2 separate regions of the Homo sapiens genome follow, and region 1 is linked to region 2. The links are contacts of gene promoters, found by promoter capture Hi-C in blood cells and fetal thymus (Javierre and others, 2016). All regions are on one chromosome and are shown on one strand. Each heading gives the region's core, a stretch centred on a gene start or on the middle of the fragment in contact. The rest is flanking DNA. Distances are from core to core; before and after follow the strand shown. Region 1 holds the start of MMAA (metabolism of cobalamin associated A). Region 2 holds the start of ELMOD2 (ELMO domain containing 2).

What was found. The method cuts DNA at HindIII sites, captures the fragments that hold promoters and counts their contacts. A CHiCAGO score of 5 or more calls a contact.
Region 1: a contact is called between a fragment that was not itself captured here and the fragment with the promoter of ELMOD2 in region 2, in 1 of 17 cell types (non-activated CD4 T cells). The highest score is 7.5, in non-activated CD4 T cells.

Annotation. Positions count from the first base shown.
Region 1 is chr4:145,617,872-145,620,571 of GRCh38, forward strand. It overlaps MMAA (metabolism of cobalamin associated A), which reads left to right and starts at 1,514. Exons shown (of 7, transcript NM_172250.3): 1 at 1,514-1,536. RefSeq lists silencers at 1,343-1,782, 1,813-1,882. The HindIII fragment of the contact is 749 bases long and covers 1,008-1,756 here.
Region 2 is chr4:140,522,800-140,525,499 of GRCh38, forward strand. ELMOD2 (ELMO domain containing 2) reads left to right here and starts at 1,369. Exons shown (of 9, transcript NM_153702.4): 1 at 1,369-1,481; 2 at 2,621-2,700. The coding sequence starts at 2,630. RefSeq lists silencers at 1,071-1,420, 1,611-1,730. The HindIII fragment of the contact is 7,186 bases long and covers 1-2,591 here.

The DNA of each region.
Region 1 (2,700 bases), core at 132-2,631, 5.1 Mb after region 2:
TTCTGAATAAAAAAGTGACATGCATGAAAGTGTTTGAGTTTGTAGAACGAAAAGCAGGTAAGGATAAACTCAATTTTAAAATTAACAAACTTCTTCACTTCTAAGGTAGCACAAACTGAGCTTTCATCAAACGTAACCCTTACCGAAACAATTGTTCAGATGAGCAACGCCAAGTTTAAAGAAAGGAAGTAAACCGTCTCAAGAACTGTCAATCTGTTTGTGTTCGATAGGCTGAGATTTGAAAGGTTTGATTCTGTGTTCTTTCTACTAGATCCTCGGCTTCATTTAGACTTGTGCTTAATTTTCTGTCATTGGCTATTGAGTCTACAATCAATCTTTGGAGTAAAAGTGGTAGTCTTTTGGTCCAAATAGTAATAATGAAAATGGTGAGACCAGTAATTCATTTTTTATTATTCTGTATTCAGTAAGAATCAACCTGTATCAAATAGCTGAAAAGGCCTGAAGCCTCCCAAATGCATATCATTACACAAATTCTGTGTGAGGACTGACATCTTGGTTTCATATACTAATTATACTGCATGGGCCCCATTTATAACCATATCTACTCGTCATTTGATCCTGGCTACTGCCGATGGATGCTATCTTCATCACATTATAGCAAACATTTGGGTGATTAAGTTTTTCTCAAAAATTCTAGATTAGCATACAACGGCTTTACTACTTATATGTCATCTAAGACGTTTTTTAAGAATTAGTTACTACTACGCCCAACGCAGTGAGGTAGCAAATATTATGCCTGTTTATTTTCATCTCCATTTCAGGCTTGCGCGCCTTTCCCCCCTCGGGACTTCCCGAGGACACCCCTGCAGCAGTGAGCCCGAGTCCTGGCTTTGGCTGCATGTTAAGAAATATTAATCAAAATGAATGCGTGCCCTTTAAGAGAAAAAAACTGTGGGTCCTTCAGCCTTTAAAAACCATGCCGTGGTTTAAAAACTTAAAACTATATTTCGGCAGAACGCTGAGCATTTCTTCAAATCACTCTGAGAAGCTTGAGTGTCTTTAATTTCACCGGTCTGTCAAACGTAACGCGTCTCTCCCTCACCCCACATTTTAAGTTTCCAAGGAGCGGAAGAAGGGCCTCCGGGGGTCCCGGCCGCCGCAGGCTGCTGGGGGTGAGGACACGACTCGGCCTCCGTCCGACTCGAGGGTGTCGCGAAGGCCAGGAGGGAACGAAAGTTACCCTCGAACTTCGGAGGCGAAAGATTTCATGTGGATCTTAAAAAGGGCAAAACCTACCCCAAAGGCCGTAAACCGCCCTCCCCTCCCCCGCCAGAGAACTTCCCGGCGCAGAGCTTCCGCAGCCTGCTGCAGGCCGGGAGACCTTCACGCTCACTCGCTCTCCGCCACACGCCGGAACTGCGCGGCCACGTCCACGGGGACCCTGGCCATGCCCCGCACCGCCACCCAGCCCCAGGCGATCCCCGGGCCCCACGCGCCTGCAGTCGGCGCTGCGCCTGCGTGGGAGGATCCGGCGGAAGGGGCGGGGTCAGGTGGCACTTCCGTGGCTTCGGGCGGGTGAGTATGGGGAGTGCGCGCGGCGTCCAGGAGTCGGGACTGGGCTCCCGCCTACGGCCGCCCTCCCGCCGGGGGGCCAGCGCGGTCCTCCGGGGCGCCCCCTGGAGGATTTGGGGTGGGGGAAGGAAAAGGAGAGTATTATCGAATATTCTCCTAATATTGATGTTCGGGGTGCGGATATGTGTGGACAGGCAGGAGTCGGCAAATGGGTTCAAATGGAAGCTTTAACAAAGAAAGGCCCTGTACGTAAACAGTGTTTTAAAATTCTCATCTTGGTTAGGTTTCTCAGGTTATCTCTGAGCCACAGCAAGGCAGCTTTGTTAAGGTGGCTCTTCCCTTGTCGCTGCCAAACCCGGTAAATGGTTAACCTGAGGCCGCGTCAGAGAAAGCCACTATGACTCCTACCAAAGAGTGAAATTGAAACTCTTTTCTGGGAAATCAAATCCAGGATATAAAAGTTGGATTCAAACTAAAAGTTACAAACAGTATCTAGGTTCCGTCACATGGCGTGCCGGGCAGGGTCTAAATCTCTTTCAGCAGAGGGCATGCTGTCTTCATATGTATTTCTCATTAGAAAATGAAAGACGACCTAAACCAAAATAATATAAAAATTTTTTATTATCTGTCTTAAGAGTTGTACCCTAATCCATATGTTTAGAAAACATAAACTAATAAAACTTTTCCAACTTGGTAGAAAGCCAAAAGTTTCCAGAAAAACTGTGTGGATTATTCAGCATTTTGCTGTTGTCTACAATGTTCAGAATATTCTTTTACAATAATTTTGCACTAAATACCGGTTTGTGTTCAGGGTAACAAGAGGTTTTTAAAAAGTCAAAGACAAGGACAGGTTTTTTAAGGGCTGTATTCTATTAGGAGAGACAAAACAAGCATGAAAAGTTACATATCCATAAGAAATGTAAATCACCATTTGAGATATTTGAAGATGTCAAAAGAAAACCTTTATTTAGAATGGAAAGAGCTGGTGAATGCTCGAAACATTTACCATTTAGCTGATTGTTGCCATGTGGGAATGGGGGTCTCTCAAACGCAGATCCGATTTTCTCCAACACAGGCCAAAGATCTGTATTTTTACGTATTTTTTCTTGATTTTTAATGTTACTTGCAACCAATTTAGTTAACACACACCTTCTGTGGGTGGGCCAG
Region 2 (2,700 bases), core at 119-2,618:
TAGATGATAGTTATAAGTTCTCTTTAAGATTTAAGATTCTGTGATTTTACTATTGTAGTGTCTATCCAGACTTCATTACCAAGTTCATTGTTGGTATGGGACAGGGATGACGGCTTATGCACCCTGCACATGGCTAGTGTTCTACAATTAGTCCATTTTTTAAACGCTGGTTGAGATGTGGGAAAGTATGTATCACTTGCTTCAATTCAAGGAGTTGGAAGGAATATACATATATACACTTGCATATAATATTTTTGGAATTAGAAACAAGAAAGTAATACTGGTTGCTTCTGAGCAAGGTGACGGAGGTATCAGGAGTTTTGGGTGGATGGGGAAATTTGTTTTCAGTATCAGTTGTCCTTTGTATTTATATTCTACTCTCCCCCTTGCTCTTTCTCCTCCAGCCACCCCGGCCTTCTTGCTCTTCCTCCAACATTTCAAAAACCCTCCCAATTCAAGGTCTTTGCACTTGTCATTCTGGTGCCTGGATCACTCTCCCTCCAGATACTCCCACAGTAAACTCCCTTACTTCGTTCAATGAGGCCAAAATGCCACGTTAATAATGAGACTTCCTTGACCACACTGTATGCAATGACTTCCCCCACAGACTCCCCATTACCCCTTAGCTAACAACCCCTATACCCTTAACATTTAGTAGCATCTGACATATTAAATATTTGGCTGTTTGTTTCGTGTTTGACTGCCTTTTGGAACACTGCCTGTGCTAACAATCAACAAATACTTGTTGAATTAAGAAACTTACTGCTTGAGGTTTTTAAAAAGTAATCACGAAATTACTTTTTCAACAAAAACAACCAGTTAGGGAATAAACATTTGATAAATTAACTTTTAGACCTATAGTATTATAGGATAAAGTCCAAACTTCGTTTCTCAACACATGGACTTTCCTCATCTGCCACGTATTGGCCACAGTCAAGTAGCCGGTTCCCTTTTCTCGTGCATAAAGTGGAGTTATTCATAATTACTTCACAGAATTAAGATTCAATGCAGATGAAAGCGCTTTTGTAACTAAGGCACTATAAGTTACCGTAAGCACAGGGTTTCTTCCGCGCTTGGAGCCTAGGAATAGTACAAGGTGTCAACCCGCGCTAAGGACCTGAGGTTCAAGGAGGGAAAAGTCTCCAGCGCAGCGCTAGGAGGCGCTACTCCGGCGCGGGGCGGGGCTCCTGGCCGCCGTTGCCAGGGAAACCGTCTGGGCGTCCCTAGTATCTGAGCCCTCGCGCCTGGGCCACTCAGCTCGACCTCTCTCCAGCGTTAGCAATAGGTGGAGCGCGGGCCAATCGGAAGAGGCCGGAGGGGCGGGGCGGGCAGTGGCCCTGGGAAGGCGGGTCCGCGGCCTCGCTCCCTGACTTCCGGGTCGCGGTGCTTGAAGGGAGTGTTCCGTCGTTTCCGTTGCCGGCTGTTTGCAGTGGGGAAACCGAGGCAGCTCCTGCTCCCCCTAGTTCTTCCGCTCCTGTGAGGTGGCTGCTGTTTCTTTTCCTCTTGCCCCGGATGCCTCGGTGCGGCTGCACTGAGAGCGCGCGGGCTCGCGAGCCCCGCGGGGTTCTGCGGGAACCCGGGGGCGCCTGGGCCGGCGGGTCTTTGTGCGAGCCCTGCCCTCCCATTCGCGGGCGGCGCGCGAGGGGGGTCGGCGCAGAGACGCCCAGAGCCCTGGGGTGCTCAGGCGCCGCTACGCGTGCATCCCCTCTGCTCGGCAGTTCTGCGCTTTTGTCCTAATGAGCGCGGACTAGATGGCTTGATTTTCAAGATAATGATCAACCCAGCTGTGCTATGCGCTCTTTCTGCACTGACCTGCGGGTACTTCGAACTTCGACAGTCCCTCCTCAGGCCCTAGTCCAGAGGTGACGTGTCTGTGGGAATGTTTAAGGCAGGAAGGAGACGAGCAATTTTGTTTTTAAGTATCTCCCTCTCACTAGTATCTCCCTGACTTTTTCATTTAGAAGCTGAAGAATTTTCTTATGGCATAAGATATAGTTGTATCGAGTGTGTACTTAGCAAAACAAAAACTTGTTAGTATTTCTGCCCTTGACCTATTGAATGGAAAATCAAGAATGAGCTAAGGTGTTATATACTCAGTGTTCAACTTGTATACTTAAGTTTGTAGTGTTTTTATTTGCTGGCATCACCTGACTGGGACAGTTGTAACGAATTATCCACATGGGATAAGAAGAGTGTATTCTATAAAAACAACTCTGATGTTTTGGTATATATTTTAATTGTTGATTAGTTGGAGTCCTCTTGATCTTGAACTGTTGAGCCCCAGTTCTCAAAGAATGGGAAGTTAGGAAACTAAGATATGAAATACAATTATTTAGCAAAAAGTGCAAACCATTCTGTTACTCTTTCAAGCCATTGAATAGTTTGAGTACATTGTTTGAATTTTAGTTTTGAAAAAGTGATTAATTGGCCATTTGATCATCAATTAATAGCGGTATATATTACACCTGCCATTGTTTTTAAATGCCTAATTAAACTGTCAAAACAGACACAATGAAATGATAGATACATAATTTGAGATTTGATCAGTTGTATAAACTTTTTAAATTTTAAAATTCAGTTTAAGGTCATTAAGCTTGTCTTGTATGTTTCCCTCCTCCAGGAAAAAAAAATGTTTATTTCTTTGTGGGAGTTCTTCTATGGGCACTTTTTTCGATTTTGGATGAAATGGCTATTACGACA